Regions from separate parts of the Homo sapiens genome. Here region 1 is linked to region 2. The links are contacts of gene promoters, found by promoter capture Hi-C in human tissues and cell types (Jung and others, 2019). All regions are on one chromosome and are shown on one strand. Each heading gives the region's core, a stretch centred on a gene start or on the middle of the fragment in contact. The rest is flanking DNA. Distances are from core to core; before and after follow the strand shown. Region 1 overlaps LOC124902693. Region 2 holds the start of AP5B1 (adaptor related protein complex 5 subunit beta 1).

What was found. Contacts are between HindIII fragments. The study calls those that stand out against the background at their distance.
Region 1: a fragment that was not itself captured here is called in contact with the fragment with the promoter of AP5B1 in region 2 in 3 of the 25 tissues and cell types used here (dorsolateral prefrontal cortex, lymphoblastoid cells and spleen).

Annotation. Positions count from the first base shown.
Region 1 is chr11:65,812,162-65,816,855 of GRCh38, forward strand. The region is part of intron 3 of LOC124902693; the gene reads right to left. Among named protein-coding and RNA genes, the nearest start is that of SNX32, 19 kb to the right of the region's middle. The HindIII fragment of the contact is 6,430 bases long and covers 1-4,694 here.
Region 2 is chr11:65,779,490-65,784,050 of GRCh38, forward strand. It overlaps AP5B1 (adaptor related protein complex 5 subunit beta 1), which reads right to left and starts at 1,487. Exons shown (of 2, transcript NM_138368.5): 1 at 953-1,487; 2 at 1-853. The coding sequence starts at 1,102. RefSeq lists silencers at 561-830, 981-1,160, 1,201-1,940 and enhancers at 569-1,471, 2,201-2,858. The HindIII fragment of the contact is 21,769 bases long and covers 1-4,561 here.

The sequences.
Region 1 (4,694 bases), core at 1,118-3,617, 34 kb after region 2:
CTCATCTTCGAAAACAACTCATAAAAGCGCATCAGAGGAAACAGTCTTTTCATCCCACCTATCATTAGTTCCCAGAACAGGGGCTGGAAGTAGGCAGCCTCCCTGGGAGTTTGCGGGATGAGGCAACACCGGCGCCTGAGCTACCATTTAGCCTATTTCTAGAGATAAGCCTGTTGATGTCAAAGTAAGGAATGACCAACTCCAGCCAACAGCGCCCTGTGGGACTGGGTCTGTGACATCTCCTTTCTCCCAGGCACCATCCCCAGGGCAGGAGACAGGAACCCTAGATCGTGGGGGTTTGTGAACTGACCTAGGTAAATAATAACAAGTTGGGCTGCACTCTCCTTGAGGTAATTCAAAGTACTTTATCACCATTACCTCACTGATCTTAACTAACATCCAAGGAAGGAAGGAAAGAAAAAAGGCAGAAGCTTTCTCATTTCCTAAAACAAAAGTGAATGGGGGCTGGGTGCGGTGGCTCACACCTGCGATCCCAGCACTTTGGGAGGCCAAGGCAGGTGGATCAGCTGACGTCAGGAGTTCGACACCAGCCTGACCAATATGATGAAATCCCGTCTCTGCTAAAAATACGAAAACTTAGTCGGGTGTGGTGGTGGGCACATGTAATTCCAGCTACCCAGGAGGCTGAGACAGGAGAATCGCTTGAACCTGGGAAGCAGAGGTTGCATTGAGCCAAGATCTCACCACTGCACTCCAGCCTGGGCAACAGAGCAAGACTCCATCTCAAAAAAAAAAAAAAAAAAAAAAAAGTGAATGGGGAGTGGGAGCTTTTAGGTGAACCAGCTCCTATTCACCTATGGTCAGTGAAGAATAAGTACCTCAAATATACACAATAACACTAATGGGGATGGGGGAGGGCATACAAATGAACTCCAAAGCCCTGACTGTGGCCCATAGCCAGAGAAAACAAAAAAGATTCCTGATTTGGGGAGAGGAGTCCTCAACTGGGAGTTTGACAGTTCAGACTGATTTCAAAAGACAGGCTGAATTTTACCCCTCTGTGCTAGAAAGGGTATCGAACCATAAATTCCCCCTGCCCTGACTTCACCAAACTTTGTAAATAACAGAGACGCGCACCCGAGTAATTAGAAGAAAAAGCTAAGTGGCTTGTCAGCTAAGTGGCTTGAGTAGGCATAGGTGTGGCTGGAAGCATTCTGTGTATTTTCTCTACAGCCAAATGTGTAAACGGTCAGAAATACTAGTTTAATGAGCTTATAAATTTGGAGTGACTCTTTACATCTGACAGTGAGGTCTGGGGTTCAACTATTTCACCTCTGAAATCAAAGAGGCTGTGATGGGGTATTCATCTCTTACCAATTCTTTTTTTTTTTTTTTCTTTTTTTGAGATGGAGTTTCGCTCTTGTTGCCCAGGCTGGACTGCAGTGGCGCAATCTCAGCTCACTGCAATCTGTCTCCCGGGTTCAAGCAATTCTCCTGCCTCCGCCTCCTGAGTAGCTAGGATTACAGGCGCCCACCACAACGCCCGGCTAATTTTGTGTATTTTTAGTAGAGACGGGGTTTCATCATGTTGGCTAGTCTGGTCTTGAATTCCTGACCTCAGGTGATCCACCCACCTCGGCCTCCCAAAGTGCTGGGATTACAGGTGTGAGCCACCACGCCCGGCCCATCTCTGACCAATTCTTCCAGAATGTTCCACAGGTTTCTTCTTCACACTTTATGATTCTATTTTACTGACCCAAACAATTCGCCCTCCAATGTTTCGTGGAGGGGATAACAACTCTGGGTATTTGAAGATGTTTTCTGACATCTTATCTGTTTCCTTCCCTCCTTGGTCTGCGCTGGGCTACCTGAAATGCCTCCTACACGCGCGCTTCCCTTATGAACATTCATTAGATGGGTACTTGTCCTGCTTAACTCCTACAAATTCACAAGTTCTCTAATGCTCAAATTCAAAGCACTTGCATCTCTAGGTAATCACTGTTTGCTAAAATGCTCTTTAGCTTTTTCTATCTACAATGTTTCTAAACGTTAATTTAATTGAACTTAAAAGCGATTGTGCATAATGTGCCGCAACTTGGCACTCAGCTCATGTAAACAGTGTCTTGCTGACAGGGTAGGTCTAGTGCAGGAAATAACCGCGTCAGCAGCGCTGTCCCACATAGGACTACAAATCCATGACAGCCTCAGGGGCTCCCCACGAGGCACAATGGGTGATGTCATTCTTCTGGGGCTTGGCTAGGCCATGACTGGGTCTAGAGGCACTCTCTCTTCCCAGTCCGTTTTTAGAACTAATATTTGCAATGCCACTTCCACATTTCCCTCTATTTCTGATTCATGTCAGCCTGAGGCCTGAGACAGAACAAGCCTGCAGCTGAACACATGGTTACCACTTTTTTTCCAGAACCTTAGGAAAACGTTGTTAATGTTCAGGGCTATGAGTGACCTTGCCGTCCCACATCATGGAACTATTTATTAAACAGATGGATGGACAACCTTATAATTAGGTCAACTACGTATACTCCGATTCAAGCCCTTGGTTTCATTCCTTTTCTCTCTAAGATTAGGGAATTTCTCAATGACCAATAACGCAGAAATACACCCCCTCACATCCCGAGGGAGATTGCTCAGCCTACAGCCACCCCGTGAAGATCCCATGACTTCTGGCATCTGCCCTAATAACCCAAGTCTCTTATCTGTGAGTTTTGGTTTGTCAGACCCTGTTGTTCGCATTAATCTTCCTGTGCCTGTGAGGACAGAACCCGGACAAAGTGGGAGTCCTGAACCTGCGTATGCTGGTTGAATAGGTAAACACCCTCAGATAAGGAGGCCTTGGGAAAACCATTGTGACGTCCTAAGAATGCAAGGTGTAAAAGTTCCAATCCCACTCTCCCACCCCTAAACCAGTTGAGACACAGACCTGCCCTTCCCCAGGTTGACTTGGCCCGACTAGATAGCATCTGCAATCTGCACTCGCTCCCTCCCTCCCAAGTGAATCAGTCCCCAACCGGTTACCTCCCCAGGCTCCTTGGAGACAATGCCAAGTACAGCCTAGGGGGTGATGGCTCCATTTGAGGAGCCTGGCATCTTGGAGAGTGCCACCCCAATCCCCCGCTTTGGGCAGGTGCATAGGGAGGACTCAGGAAAGAGGTGTTCTGCCATGGACCAGTCCAGGTCCAAAAAGTCTCGAGAAGCGCCCGGGAGCCAGGAGAAAAGCCGAGAGATGAAAGGAGATGCCTGAGGTGCCGCAGCCCAGGTCTGAGCCGGGCTAGAAACCGCGTGACAAAACAAAGATGCGTTCTTAGCCGTGATGGAACTCCCAGATTAGCTTGGCTTTCTTCCTTTTGTTTTGTTTTGTTTTATTCATCTCTGTCGCATCTATTTTCCTCTGGGCATGTGACACTTCCACTCTTTCTCTTCTTTAGTCCTCTTCCAGAAGTTCTGTTCTGTGCTGGATTAGGTCAGGAGTGATGGATTGTTCTTATACACACGGGATATGGTGGATGAATGTGTTGATCTGACACTCACTGAGAGTTCTAAACAGGGAATTATAGCAGTGACAAGTGGTGAAAGACATGGCCCCTGCCTCTTGAGCTTCTGTGGGACCCAGCAGGCTGGAGGGGCGCACCCAGCTTTATGCATCTGCCCTCAGGAGAGCTGCACAGGCTCCAATTTTTCTACTTTTATTTTTAATTTAATTTTTTTTTTGAGATGGAGTCTCACTCTGTCATCCAGGCTGGAGTGCAGTGGCACAATCTCTGCCCCCCAGGTTCAAGCGATTCTCCTGCCTCAGCCTCCCAAGTAGCTGGGATTACAGCTGCCTGCCACTGCGCCCAGCTAATGTTTGTATTTTTAGTAGAGACAGGGTTTCACCATCTTGGCGAGGCTGGTCTTGAACTCCTGACCTCGTGATCCACCTGCCTTGGCCTCCAAAAGTGTTGGAATTACAGGCGTGAGCCACCGCGCCCGGCCTCAGGCTCCGGTTTTTCTAAATGAAAGCCTCATCTCTTACTGACCCACTGGGTAACTGAACCCTTGATTTTCATGTAAGACTGATCTCTTGGCCTGGCGCAGTGGCTCACGCCTATAATCCCAGCACTTTGGGAGGCCAAGGCAGGCAGATCACCAGATCAGGAGATTGAGACCATCCTGGCCAACATGGTGAAACCCCGTCTCTACTAAAAATACAAAAATTAGCTGGGTGTGGTGGAGTGCACCTGTAATCCCAGCTACTTGGAAGGCTGAGGCAGGAGAATGGTTTGAACCCAGGAGGCAGAGATTGCACAGTGAGCCAAAATCACGCCACTCCACTGCAGCCTGGCGACAGAGCGAGACTCCGCCTCAAAAAGAAAACAAACAAACAAACAAACAAACAAAAACGGATTTCCCGCTGGTAACAACTGGTTAATTAGTCTCTGGTTTTCTGTCCTTCTAGTCAAATGCTCCAGAAGAGCTCTGTATTTAAATACGCCCAAGTATGAATCTCTGGTCAAGTGAAGACTATTTCTAGAAAACAAGTAAGTCTTCCCAAATTCATCTGCCTCAGCTAGGACTGGCATAAATCACTTTTTCTTGAATTGGTCTCCATTGCATATCCCATTTTCTTCTCATCTTTTTTTTTTAATTGCCAAACAAGATGTATGCCACCCAAGCCACAAAATGGCAGGCAACCAATTTCTGTCCTGCTACATCCAAAATTCTCTAAGGTTCTACAA
Region 2 (4,561 bases), core at 237-2,736:
CAAAGGCCGCCTTGAGCGCAAGCATGGCGTGCAACAGTGTCAGCTGTGCTGTGCCTAGCAGCCGTACCAGCTGCGGCTTGAAGAGTGCCGGTGGCTGTCCCTGCAGACCCCGCAGGGCCCAGCCCAGCAGCCACAGGAGCTGGGCCTGGGCCACAGGAGTGAGCAGATAGGAGGTGTCCAGAAGCTGGATCACCGCAGCCCGCAGCTCCCGCGCCTCCTCAGGGCTGTGCTCTCGTGCTGTAAGGCTACGCTCCCCCTCTCCCTCCTCAGCTGCCGGCCAGCTGGGTGCCTGGGGCTGAAGGCGTCCATCGCCCTCCTCCACTAGTGTCCAATCCCAGGGACCACCCCCAGTTGGGGAGACCTTATCCGTGAGCAGTCCCCCCAGGCCAGCCCCAACCCGGGACTGGAGCACCAAGGTGTTGCGCAAAGCGAGGGCCAGCAACAGGCTGAGTGGCTGGACAGGGCCTTCCTGCCCCAGCAGGCCCCGCAGCAACCCCAGGGAGCCCCCCAGCAGCCCGGGCTTGCAGCTCTCTAGCTCTCGCAGGCACTCGCAGGCCGTGGCCTGCAAGGGGCGCTGTTCCGAGGCGGGGACAAAGCCTCGCCCCAGATCGCTACCCGCGGCCAGGCCGAGCAGTAGGGGCAGGAGCCGGCAGGAGGCGCCCGAGGTGGGGCCCAGCGCGCCGCCCGCCGCCAGGGCAGTGGTGGCCGCCAGCAGCAGTGGCCGACGGAGAGCTGAGGGCCGCGGGGGTAGGAGGACCAAGGTGTCCAACAGGGAGGTGGCGGCCACTTCGGCCGCAGAGGCGTCGGGCCACAGCTGCGCAGGGTACTCCATGCTCAGGGCCAGCAGGGAAACCTGGATGGGGGATTAGGAGGGAATCACGAAGATGAGGTTCATGACGCGGCGGGCTGGGGTGACCCTGCGGAACGGCGCAGGGGACGCGTGGGGGCCTACCTTGGTCTGTTCGCTCAGCTTCTCACTTCTCAGGTCGCTCAGCAGGTCGCGACCCAAATCCTCCCCCTCGGGACCTGCCATGAAGGCAGACGGGCTGGCCCGGAAGGCCCCCAAGCGCTGGGCCCAGGCGTCCCGGCTCAGGGGCCCCATGGTGAGGCGCGCGGGCCCCTGCGCAGGGAAGAGGGACCCTCAGGCCGCAGCCACCGGGAGCGCGGGGCCCGCTGCCGACCCCGAGGGGCTGCGGTCACCCCCAGACGCCGCGCAGATGCCGGCGGGACCCGCGCCCGGCTCCCACGGTGAGACCAGGGCTCTCGGGGCCGACGCCAGAGCTGGGCGCCGGGGCCCTCGCGGGACAGGACAGGAGCAGGGCGGGGGAGGGTGCGTGCCGAGAGCTCGTTAGGCCGCCTCCCTCCCGCCCGCGGCCCGCACCGAAACCACAGCGCCACCCCGGCCCCCGGCGCCGGCGGTAACGGGCCGCGCTCGCCGCCTGACTCAGCCGCCGCGGGCACTCAGGCCGGCCGGCTCCTTCCGGGCTGGCGGCGCGGGGCGGGGCGCGGCGCGGGGGCGGCCGAGTCCGGGCGGGGAGGGGCGGGGCGTAACGGGGCCACCGCCTCCCGCAGGTGTCGACTCGCAGGTTTCGCGGGGGCTGACTAACTGTCCCGCCGCGCAGGCCCCCTTCCCCGAAACCGCCGCAGGCCGGGGCAGGAAAGGCGGAGGGGAGTGGGTAGGGGTGGCGGAGCGGGGTGGGCCTGGGCCCCAGATGCCGGGTACCGCGGCGCAGGGCTGCGATCCCGCGGCCCTCGGCGGACAGCGGCCCGGTCCCACCAGCGCCCGCCAAGCCGCGCAGGGCGGCAGCCAGCGCGCCCCCCGCCGGCGCCCGGGCACACCGCACCCTGCGCCAGACGCGCGGCCCCGGGGGGCGTGGGTGCGGGTCCTGGGGCTCCCGGAGTGGCCCCTGGGGGTGACCAAGGTGCGGTCGCAGGGCGCCCGCAGGAAAAGCGCCCCAGCTGAACCGGTCCGGCGGGCGCCGCAGGGCTTGGCTTCGCTTCCCTGACGCCTGCCCGGGCCCCCAGCCCGCTCGGCTTGGGGGCGAGGAGCCGGCGCCGCGGTTGCGGCCAGCCAGGAGCTTCTGACCTTTGTTTGCCCGAGGCCGCGCTGGCGGCCCGCAGGGGTCGTGACGGCGAGGGCGGGGCAGGGCCCTAAGTCGAAAACAACGGGATCCATACTCGGGAAGTGCGGGCTGTCAGGGCCTGGCCGGTCACGGGGCTCGAGGCATGCCTAGCGATGGGGAAAACAGGCCCAGGAGGAGGGCGGCCTTGCCAACCGAGATCTGGGGCCAAGCCGGGCCGGAACCCAGCACTCCAGACTTCAGTGGGCTGGATTCTGGCTGTTTGGGGGCATTCGGGGGTCTGGGCGGCGGTCTCTCCCAGGCCAGAGGCCCAGGTTGCAGGTGCCCCACAGACCACCGGTTTCCAGGGCACAGAACCGCCGGCGCCCAAACCTCACCACCCCTCTGGCTCCAATTAGCCGCTTTGAAGATGAAACAGGCCTGAGCCCCCATGCAAGCCAGTGCCAGCTGGCCTCTCCCTACCCCATCCTGCTCCAGATGGGAGGTGGTGGAGAGTTGAGGGGTGGAGAGTGCCAAAAAGGAGGCTGTCTGGGTGCCCTTGGGGATGGAGAGATAGAGACCCACTCGGAGGGACAGGTCCAGCCAGAAGGCCCGGTCCCGGCTCCTCTAGGCCCTGGCTCCACAGTTGACTCACAGGCAGCAGCCCCAAACTACTTCCCTCTAGGTGCCTCAGTTTCCCCATCTATAAAATGGGAGTGATAACTCCCACCCAAGAGGCTGTGGGGTGAGGCAGCCTGGCTAATTAAACCCAAGATGAAAGAGGCAGGATGAGAGCAGCCCTGGGGAGGGGAGGCAGCCTGCAGTAGGAGCCAGTCTGGTTTCTCTGTCTGAGCCCAGAGGGTGCTGGTAACTGCACATCCCCGGCCCTCACCACCCTCACGGTGAGGCAGGAATGATCATTAAACTTCTTGCAGAGTTGAGAAGACAGGTTTCCAAGGATCAGGGGGCCTGACACTGGCTCTGGCCCCGGCTCAGCCTCTGACAGCGTGGCCTCTGCACACCTCCTGCCTGAGTCTTGACTCCTTGAGGCTGAGGGTCTGGAGGGAGGGAACCCACTTGTGGTCTCCAATACTGCAGTGGACGAATCCGCATGGACTTACTGAGGCTCACAGCAACCCCAGGTACCGAGAGTGGGTATCAGATGAGGAAAGGGAAGCCCACAGAGGTACGGTCTCTCAGTCACAGAGCCCCTCAGAGGTGGAGCCTCGACTTCCACAAACAGCCCCTTGTTGCATCTGACCTGGTCCTCCCCCCACACCAGGTACCCTCGGCCCTCTTGGGTGTCCAGGTCCCTGGATGGGCCCTGTTCTCACCTGTCTGCTCCCCTATTGGCGGGTGGTGCTGGCTCTGTCCCTGGCAAGGCCAGGCATGGAGCTGAGCTCAGACTGTCACCGGACTCACCCGGGACAGCAACATCCCAGTCGAGGGCCCAGGTGTGGGCCACTGCCGGATGCTGAGCTGGGAATTCCCCACTCCACGCCCTCCCTCATTTCTTCTCCTGCTGAGTTTCTGTCCTCCCCATGCAGCCCAGTTGTGGGCAGACACTAAACACAAGGCTTGTAAAAGGGAAAGTCAGCTTCCCAAGGGGTCCTGAGCCTCAGTTTTCTCATCTGTAAAATCGGGCTACAACAAACACACTCTCGCAGCACTGGCTGCTGGGGATACAGGAAGGCTTAGGAAAGAACGAGTCAATAGGCAAAGCCATGGAGATAGAGCAGATAGTGGGTGCTGGGCCAGGGGGAAGGGAGACACAGTGACAGCTAATGAGTACAGGGTTTTCTTTGGGGCCATGAAAATGTTCTGAGATTTAGTGATGATGGTTGTACAGCTCTGTGAGGTTACTAAAAACCAGTGAATTGTACATCTTACAAAAGGGTGAATTTGATGGTATATGAATTCTATCTAAATAAAGCTATTTAAAATGGTGTTTAAAAAGGGGTCCCACCCCAGACCAGCAGGGGCACAAAAAGTAAAAATAAAAAATAAGGCCGGGCACGGTGGCTCACTCCTGTAATCCCAGCCTTTGGGAGGCTGAGGCGGGCAGATCACGAGGTCAGGAGATTGAGACCATCCTGGAGAACATGGTGAAACCCCGTCTCTACTAAAAATACAAAAAAATTAGCTGGGCATGGTGGCGGGCGCCTGTAAGTCCCAGCTACTCAGGAGGCTGAGGCAGGAGAATGGCGTGAACCAGGGGGTCGGAGCTTGCAGTGAGCCGAGATCACGCCACTGCTCTCCAGCCTGGACGACAGGGAGACACCGTCTCAAAAAAAATAAATAAAAATAAAAAAGTAAAATAAAAAGGGGTCCCTCAAGTTCAGAACTTGCACTGGTGGGGAGGAGAACCAACAATAAACAAGAAAGACAAACGAAACGCCACAGAGTCAAAGTTGTGGCAAAGAAAATAGGATAGTGGGACAGAGGTGGCAGGGGACAAGGATTTAGCTGGGGTGGATGGAGAGGCCCCTCAGAAGAGGGGA